Regions from separate parts of the Homo sapiens genome. Here region 1 is linked to region 2. The links are contacts of gene promoters, found by promoter capture Hi-C in human tissues and cell types (Jung and others, 2019). All regions are on one chromosome and are shown on one strand. Each heading gives the region's core, a stretch centred on a gene start or on the middle of the fragment in contact. The rest is flanking DNA. Distances are from core to core; before and after follow the strand shown. Region 1 overlaps MBTD1 (mbt domain containing 1). Region 2 holds the start of TOB1 (transducer of ERBB2, 1).

What was found. Contacts are between HindIII fragments. The study calls those that stand out against the background at their distance.
Region 1: a contact is called between a fragment that was not itself captured here and the fragment with the promoter of TOB1 in region 2, in 1 of the 25 tissues and cell types used here (lymphoblastoid cells).

Annotation. Positions count from the first base shown.
Region 1 is chr17:51,215,765-51,220,400 of GRCh38, reverse strand. It overlaps MBTD1 (mbt domain containing 1), which reads left to right. Exons shown (of 17, transcript NM_017643.3): 4 at 1-71; 5 at 1,357-1,471; 6 at 2,985-3,067. Among named protein-coding and RNA genes, the nearest start is that of MBTD1, 42 kb to the left of the region's middle. The HindIII fragment of the contact is 3,892 bases long and covers 1-3,780 here.
Region 2 is chr17:50,863,061-50,867,936 of GRCh38, reverse strand. TOB1 (transducer of ERBB2, 1) reads left to right here and starts at 1,583. Exons shown (of 2, transcript NM_005749.4): 1 at 1,583-1,879; 2 at 3,774-4,876. The coding sequence starts at 3,920. TOB1-AS1 (TOB1 antisense RNA 1) reads right to left here and starts at 1,258. Exons shown (of 2, transcript NR_038458.1): 1 at 720-1,258; 2 at 1-441. RefSeq lists silencers at 1,248-1,757, 1,768-2,377 and an enhancer at 2,918-2,967. The HindIII fragment of the contact is 8,365 bases long and covers 1-2,011 here.

The DNA.
Region 1 (4,636 bases), core at 585-3,084, 350 kb before region 2:
TCTGTAGCGTTTCATGTTCAAGAAGTTACTCGTCAAACTCCAAGAAGGCAAGCATTTTGGCCAGACTTCAGGTAACGGTACAGAAACTTTCTTACTTATATCCATTATTTCTATGGCTTTTGCCATTTATCTGTCATTTGACTGTGATTCACTGTACTCCACCTCTGCCCACTCAGTTATGGTTTTATACCACATCTTGAGGAAACATGTGAGCCCCAAAGTTTGTTCAGCCTATAAAATTGAAAAACTATTTTAAATGGATAAGGCATACTATCCAAATAAACTATTATTTGCAGAAGTTAATTAAAATATCCTTTTTCCAAATAAGTATAAACACTTTTTTATATACAGAAATTGAAGACATTTTCCTGTTTCCCCTTGTTTCCTTTTGTGTTAACATCAAGGTAGAATCTTTCAACATTTGGGGGGAAATAATTTAATCTCTGGTTTTATTTTCTCATCGTCCTCGCTTTGTACTTTTTAGTACAATCCATTTGATACATTGACCAAATGTATTTGGTTAATCCAACTAACCTTTTTGACAACGCTCATGGTATGGAAAGAAAATCGTCTTGCTTTAAATGTACATCAGTGCCTACAAAATGACTGGAGACTTGACCATTTGACTAAGTTCTTACTATTGTATTGTAAACTACTTTTTAAAGGCATTAACTTAACTGATTTTTGCAGTATTTTTATTGGATGATCACAGTCTTCTCATTTAATTTATTATTGTGATCATTACATAGCACTGAAAGGGTTATTTAAATCCTCCAAATTAAGGAAATACATCACTTAGATGTATTTCTATATTTCAGATAGACAGTACCTAAAGATCCTGAGCAGTGGTCTGTACCCAAATGGATGGCAGTTTGTCACACTGTGAATTTGGCCCATGATCATTTTGTCATTGATCTTTTGCGTTAGCACTAAAGGTATAAACCTCAGTCACTTGCTCTTTGAACATTAAATTATCTTCTCTTACCATATAAATAGCAATGCTTGGCAACCTGCATGAGTAAATAACCACTGGTTCTATCTACTGTAAGAAGGAATCAAGTATCCACCACAGCCTATATTTTAACATCTTGTGGGATATAATTTTTTATTAACATATTAATTTGCATATTGCTGTTGTAGTCTATGCCAGCTCTGCTACCCATATTAGATAACTACATTGTAGCAGAACTCCAGAAAAAAATTCTCATGTTAAAATTCTTGTATGTTTCCTCTGCTTTAATAATTTTCTAAACCCTCAATGTTTACTTAAGCAGAATGTGTAGTATGCAGTCCAGTTAAATTGTGGTGGTGAGGGGATGAAAAAGAATCCTATTTACTTAACTTTTCTTGTTTTAGGGTAAGCCTCCAACAAAGAAAGCAAAAGTTCTTCAGAAACAACCTTTAGTTGCTAAGCTAGCCGCATATGCTCAGTATCAAGCTACCTTGCAAAATCAAGCAAAGACAAAAGCAGGTAATATTGGTGAATCTGACAGAGGTGAAATATATGACATTGATTCATTTAGTTTTAATTAATGACATTGTAATTTTGAATTCTGTTTAACTAGCTGTTTCTATGTCCTGTCAGCACATTACAGCTCTAAGCTTCCTAATAGTTGTTTTGATTTCAATAAATTACTCTAGAAGAGTATAGTTGCATGCATAAGTTCAAGTGCTTTTGGCAGTCTCCTTAATGTTTTTATTTGGTTTATTATTTACTTTTCATGTACAGATTCTTTGAATTGTGAAGATATTAGGCAAAGAAATGGGATGTTCAGCAGGCTTCAAAGGGATTGAGGGAAGAAGAGTAGTAAGAGGAGATTAAGGAAAGGACCATTTCCAATAGATTTTTTTTTTTTTTTTTTTTTTTTTTTGGAGACAGAGTCTTGCTCTGTCACTCAGGCTAGAGTTCAGTGGCGTGATCTCGGCTCACTGTAACCTCTGCCTCATGGGTTCGAACAATTCTCATGTCTCAGCCTCCCAAGTAGCTGAGACTACAGGCGCACGCCACCACACTTGGCTTATTTTTGTATTTTTAGTAGAGATAGGGTTTCACCATGTTGGCCAGGCTGGTCTAGAACTCCAGACCTCAAATGATCCACCCACCTCAGCCTCCCAAAGTGCTGGGAATACAGGTGTGAGCCACAGCGCCCAGCCAGAAGATTTTTAATAGAAGTAAATAGAAAGTGAAGCAATAAGTGAGTAAATAATGAGGAGAGCAATAAGAGAGTAAATAGTGAGAAGGGCAATAAGTGAGTAAATAGAAGAGGCAATAAGTGAGTAAATAGAAGTAAATAGAAAGTGAGGTAATTAAAAGTGATATGGGGTAGGTATCTCACTGAGGTACATGGCAAGAACTGAATGGAAATAAAAGCACAAAAGCAGCCACAACAGTGTTTGTCATTCTGTACACTTCTCTCAACTTCTCTTTGTTCCCCTTAACCAAAGAGCTTGTACCTCACTTCCTCAGGAGCATGTGTCATGTATAGAACAGTTAAGAAACTCCTGGCCAGGCGTGGTGGCTCACACCTGTAATCCCAGGGCCAAGACAGGTGGATCACGAGGTCAGGAGTTGAAGACCAGCCTGGCCAATATGGTGAAACCCCGTCTCTACTAAAAATACAAAAATTAGCTGGGTGTGGTGGCATGCACCTGTAGTCCCAGATGCTCGGGAGGCTGAGGCAGGAGAATCACTTGAACCTGGGAAGCAGAAGTTCCAGTGAGCCAAGATCATGCCACTGCACTCCAGCCTAGGTGTCAGAGGGAGACTCAGTCTCAAAAACATAAAGAAACTCCTGTTTGTTTGCAAATATGATATAAGCCAAAGCTCATGCTATTTAGAGAAGTTATTTGATCTTTACATAAAGAAAACGTTCTTTAAATGGGATAAATTAATTTTATGTCCTTTCACACATTTTAACAATGATAACCTTCTTATAAATAAAAGATTTGAGAATTATAATACATCTAAATTTGTTTCATTTTAGCAGTCTCCATGGAAGGTTTCAGCTGGGGTAACTACATCAATAGCAATAGCTTTATAGCAGCTCCGGTTACCTGTTTTAAACATGTAAGTACAGAATTTCTCACCTTATTTTGAAGTACTTAGTCATTGTTTAAATCTGAAGGTACAATAACACCTAAGCATCTTATCCTTAGAAGGTGTTTGTTTTTATGTCTTGTAACTGAAATGCTTCTTTTATTATTATACTTAATAATAGTTAACAAGAACTTCTGTAAGTTTTGTAAGTACAAGTTTCCTATAGAGAAATTGCAGTTTGAAGTTATTTTAAACAGGGAGAAGTACTAGTCTTCTCTTATAAATACTAATTTTCTTTTATATTTATTTATTTTTTAAATTTTTTTGTAAAGACATGGTCTCGCTGTGTTGCCCAGGCTGGTGTCAAACTCCTGGCATCAAGCAGTCCTCCCACCTTTGCCTCCCAAAATGCTGGGATTACAGGTATGAGCCACCATACCCAGCCTCATCAGATGTTCATATTAAGTTGAACTGCTAGCTTTGTCCGGGCACAGTGGCTCAACTGTATTCCTAGCAACTTGGGAGAATGAGGCAGGAGGATCACTTGAGGTCAGGAGTTCAAGACCATCCTGGGCTACAGAGTGAGACTTCTTTTCTACAAAAAATGAAAGTAAATGAAATTGCTAGTATTGTATATCAAAAATATGCATATTGACAATGTCATACGATTTGACCTAACAAACCATTCATTGTGTATGTTACTTAAATCTGCAATTTGAACTGATAATTCAGAAGAGGAAGGATCTTTTTTCTAATTTTTTTGTCTCCAAATGTTAAGTCACAAAAACAAGGAACTATTAGTAACATAGTATTGTGAGCTAAAATATGTGCTATATATATATATCATGAGAAACCCTTTAAAAGGTTTTCTTTTCAGCAAGTGGATTGTTACAGAGCATTTAAAATAATTTAGAATTATGTTTAAAATTTATCTGATGACAAGTTCTTTCCTTTTGATTATTTTATTCCTTTAGATTTGATTAATTCTGTCCAATACTTGTTTAACCTGACTACAACTTTAATTAATACTTAAAGATCTTTTCTGCTGCTATACATGTTTAAGAAGAAAAGAGAATTTAGAAAATACATGAACTTTTGTTTGCATTTAACATTTTGTTAACTTAGGGCTCTAGGCCGGGCACGGTGGCTCACGCCTGTAATCCCAGCACTTTGGGAGGCCGAAGCAGGCATATCACCTGAGGTCGGGAGTTCAAGACCAGCCTGGCCAACATGGTGAAACCCCGTTTCTACTAAAAATACAAAAATTAGCCAGGGGTGATGGTGGGCACCTGTAGTCCCAGCTACTCGAGAGGCTGAGGCATGAGAATCACTTGAACCCAGGAGGCAGAGGTTGCAGTGAGCTGAGATTACGCCACTGCACTCCAGCCTGGGCAATAGAGCGACACTCAGTCTCAAAAAAAAAAAAAAAAAAAAAATTAGGGCTTTATTTTTAGATAACAGCATATGAACAAAGCTGAGCTTAGGTTCCTGTTGTAGAAATCTAAGTGAATTTTCACTGATTCATGGCCATTAAAGGAGTTTGATCAAAGTCAAGCAGGTTAATTTGCTAATTCTCATTCTTGAAAATACAATATGAAG
Region 2 (4,876 bases), core at 334-2,833:
GGAGAAGGCGGCTCCAACCAGATTTTGCGTCCACAAAGCCAAAAGCTTCTAGGCCTGGCATGTACGGCGGGTTTGTGCCCGAGGAGCACAGCTGGTCTACACGGGCCCGCCCCGTAGACACCCTACTCCTCGGTGAGCTGCGGTTTAACTTCCTTATAGCAGGTTGAGAGTGCAGGCCCCAACGTTTGGAGGGGAAGGCGGCGCCCCAACTGGTGTTTTTCCAGGAAGTGCTCCAAGAATGGAGAGGAGAGGGGAAAGGGGAAAGGGGAAGGCCAGGCGATGGGCGTTTCATTCATTGCTTCTTTCTCCCCGTCCCCTCCTTCGCTCCCCCCAGACTTTCCCCTTTTCCCAGTCCGAGTTTGACGTCGGTCTCCTGGATACCAGGCAGCCAATCGCCTCGTTGCGAAGGGACCAGCGCAGCCAATCAGGCGTCGTTGCTACCTGTGAGTAATATTTTTAGCTGAGAGGGACGCTCGATTCCACTCCCGATGTAATTTCGTGTATTTCTCTGGGGCAGGTTGTGAAAAAGGCACTTACCCGCCCCCCACCACGAGTCCCTCTCTTACCCCACTCCCTAGGTACCCGCACATATTTCAGCCAAGAATGATCTTAAACGCGCTTTACAAGCAGGCACCGCGTTTATTCTGTGCACCTGCGATCCAGCAAGCCCTAGAAATGCACGCATGCGTGTGTGTGTAGACATGGACACAGATACATACGCAGTTTGGCCTCGTGTCGCCACACTCTGGGCACGGCGTGGGCTGGGACATTTGGAATAAACGGATCCGAGTCGCAGCCGGGGTCGCACCGGGAGGCCTGAGGCTGCGGAAGCAGTTAAACTGCCGGCGGGGCGGGAGCTGTGGCGGCCTCCCTTCCCCACCCCCAGCCCGGCTCCACGTCTTTGGGTTCTGCAGCTGCCACTCTCTGGGTGGCGGTTGGCCTAGGCCTTGGGGTGATTAATATTCAATTAATCGGGTGCACAAGTCCCGGTCACAGTTTGCCCTTTCTCTACCCCGCCCCTGGGGTGGGCTGGAGGCCGATTTGGTAGCTATTCCACGAGCAGGATCCTCCTTGGCCGCAGACCCCCGCGGAGAGGGCACTTTCTGGGTACTCTTGCCGCTCCTCCAGCCCCGGTTCTCCTGAGCCGCTTCGCCACCAGCTTCGTCCCCCTCCCCCTCTGCCCGGCGCTCTCCGCCTAAACCGGGCGTCAGCCGCCCTACCCCACCCCTTTCTCTCTCATTGGCACGTCTGCCCCCACAGTCCCTTTCCAGACGTTCTCTTCATTCCGTCCCCAGTGCTCCGATCGTCGGTTCATTGGCCCTCCTGGAGCCCGGAGGGTGCGGCTTCCCCACCCCTGCGTCCGCCGCGCGTCCGGACAGGGGCAGGCGGGACTTGGCCAATGGCGTCGGGGGGCAGGGCAGGGGCGGAGCCGGCCGGCGGGGGACCGGGGTGCCGGGCGGGGAGCGCGGGGAATGGCTGCGCCGCCGGAGCTGTGTGACGCGGAGCGGGCGCGCGCACCCCGACGGAGGGGATGGGGGCGGGGAGGAGGCCATAAAACGAGAGGCGGGGCGCGCGCCGCGGCAGAAGGAGCGAAGCTCTGGCCCGGCGTGTAGCGGGCGCACTACGGGGACGCTGGGCCGGGCACCGGGCTGTGTGGAGAAGTGAGCGCGCTCGTCTGACCCCCGTGCCCGCCACCCCGAGCCACTAACGGCGATCTCCCAAGGCCTGCCCGAGGCCTCTGTCCTCTGTCCTCAGCCCCGCAGCGGCAACGTCTTGCACTCGGCGAGCTCGCCGCTCCCGACCCTCCCGCGCCCCCGCCCTGCCGCGCTGCTCCCCGCCCAGCCGCGGGTCTGTGGTCCAAGCCGCCCCGAAGCAGCCCGTAAGTATCTCGGGGCGCCGGGCGGGGTCGGCGAGGAGACGGGAGCCCCGGGCCCAGGCGGCGGAGGAGGGGCTGCAGCGGCGTCGAGCCCTGGGCCCTCGGGAGCTCGGGGACGGCGGGGTCGCGGCCCTGGGCGCCGAGGGGGCAGCGCCAGGACCCGAGGGGAGCGGCTCCGAGGGGCCGCCGGCGCGTCGGGCTCGTCCTGGGCAGTTGGCCGGGGACGGGCGGCCCGGGGCGAGCTGACGGGAATTGGGGGGTTGGGGTGCCCGGAGGAGCGACGAGCTCGCGGTGGAACGCTGGGGTTCGAGGGGCCGGTGGCCGCGAGGCTGAAAATGGTGCCGAGGAACCGGTGCTCCCCCAGGCTCTGGCCGGCTCCCAGGAGCCCGGGGCGGGGGCCACGGGGCGGGGAGCAGCGGGTCGGGTTACGGCGGGGGAGGGGAGCGGCTGACCCGGCGCCCCGACCTGCTCGGTGCTGGGTGCCCAGCCGGGAGAGGTTGCTCTTCCATTTCCCGGGCCTTCCTCCTCCTTCTCCGAGGAGGCTCGTACTCTCTTCCTCCTCCACCTCCACCTCCTCTTGCTGTTGCTGCTGCTGTAGCGCTTGGGCTCCGAGGGCTGTGAGCAGAAATCTAATGAGATCTAACTGGCTGTTTATGTAATTCTTCACACTCCTGCCTGTCTTAAGGCGTTGCTTTGTAACTACCTTCCACCGAGCCTGAATTTCGCTCGGCTGCACCTTCAAGCAATTGGGCTTAATCAGCTGCCTCTGCCGGCACTCAGGCTTTTGACTTGGAAAGTGTTTGTAGTTTGGGGGCAGCCAGAGATTCTTTTTCCCTTTGTCACCACGAATATGGAAAATAGAACAGACGAATTAAGACCAACTTGATTTTTAAACGTACTTTTAAATCAACTTCAGTGTGCAAATAGATCCCTTTCGCAAATATCTTCTGTTTGCCCTTGATCTTTTCTTATCCCCACCCAGTGCTGATCCAGCAAACGTTTAAAGGTCGACCTTACCATACTTGCCTCTCCGGCTGTTACCGTGAGAGGGAGGGAGGGAGAGAGGGACAGACGGAGGTTTTTTAAAATCAGACTAAAACTCAGAAACCCTGGCCTTAAACAGAATAATCAATAGTTTTAATTTGTGTCTTTGCTTTTGTTATACTTGCTGCCGAATAGGTATTTTCAGATTTAGAAAAATACACATTGAAAACAAAAGGCCCAGAGAAGCTGGATTTTATTATATTGTATGCTCTTAGTATACTTAAGGCCGAAACTATATAGAATAATTTGGTTCATAATTATTTACTAGGATGAAGTTCATTTAGTACTCAGTGTCTTTAATTTTAGCATCATGTACTATGGAAATTAAAATGATCTTCCTAACGTAACCAAATTTTTAAATGTCAGTGACAGAGCAGATTTAAACAGTATATATCCAAAGTAAACTAAAACATGGATTCACTTCTAAGTTGGTGAATAACAATAAAAATTACTACCTAAAAGTGGCATCTATATATATGGGGGTGGGGGGAGGATGCTGAGTACAATAAATATTCTTGTGAGAACTGAGGAGAGAAGAATGCATGTTCTAGAGATTTTTCTTCTTAGAACTCTATTCAGAAACAGGTTTTTAAAAGCATTATTTCATTTGTAAATCTACATTTTCCTGTGTCATTTTAAACTTTAATAAACGATTTTCTATTTTATGTTTATTTTGTGCTAGTAACAGTTTTCAGGCTTTCTGTCCTAGTAGACATTTTCTTTTTCTTTTTATCCTTAGCAGACTAACACAGGATCTTAGACATTTTGAAAGGTGAAATTACTTTGGAGGGGGGAAGGTCATGGGACTTATATTACATTTATCTTATTTGGATATGTTTGCTTTTGTTTTAAGGAACAAGATCACTCAAGGTGAAGGATAATCTACTAATACCAGCACTTTGAATGAAAATTTGTTTCTCTGCCACAAACTGAACATCTTTTTTTTTTTTTTTTTTTTTTGGTGGGGGAGTTGAAACCTAATTTTGTGGCGTAGCAGCTATGCAGCTTGAAATCCAAGTAGCACTAAATTTTATTATTTCGTATTTGTACAATAAGCTTCCCAGGAGACGTGTCAACATTTTTGGTGAAGAACTTGAAAGACTTCTTAAGAAGAAATATGAAGGGCACTGGTATCCTGAAAAGCCATACAAAGGATCGGGGTTTAGATGTATACACATAGGGGAGAAAGTGGACCCAGTGATTGAACAAGCATCCAAAGAGAGTGGTTTGGACATTGATGATGTTCGTGGCAATCTGCCACAGGATCTTAGTGTTTGGATCGACCCATTTGAGGTTTCTTACCAAATTGGTGAAAAGGGACCAGTGAAGGTGCTTTACGTGGATGATAATAATGAAAATGGATGTGAGTTGGATAAGGAGATCAAAAACAGCTTTAACCCAGAGGCCCAGGTTTTTATGCCCATAAGTGACCCAGCCTCATCAGTGTCCAGCTCTCCATCGCCTCCTTTTGGTCACTCTGCTGCTGTAAGCCCTACCTTCATGCCCCGGTCCACTCAGCCTTTAACCTTTACCACTGCCACTTTTGCTGCCACCAAGTTCGGCTCTACCAAAATGAAGAATAGTGGCCGTAGCAACAAGGTTGCACGTACTTCTCCCATCAACCTCGGCTTGAATGTGAATGACCTCTTGAAGCAGAAAGCCATCTCTTCCTCAATGCACTCTCTGTATGGGCTTGGCTTGGGTAGCCAGCAGCAGCCACAGCAACAGCAGCAGCCAGCCCAGCCGCCACCGCCACCACCACCACCACAGCAGCAACAACAGCAGAAAACCTCTGCTCTTTCTCCTAATGCCAAGGAATTTATTTTTCCTAATATGCAGGGTCAAGGTAGTAGTACCAATGGAATGTTCCCAGGTGACAGCCCCCTTAACCTCAGTCCTCTCCAGTACAGTAATGCCTTTGATGTGTTTGCAGCCTATGGAGGCCTCAATGAGAAA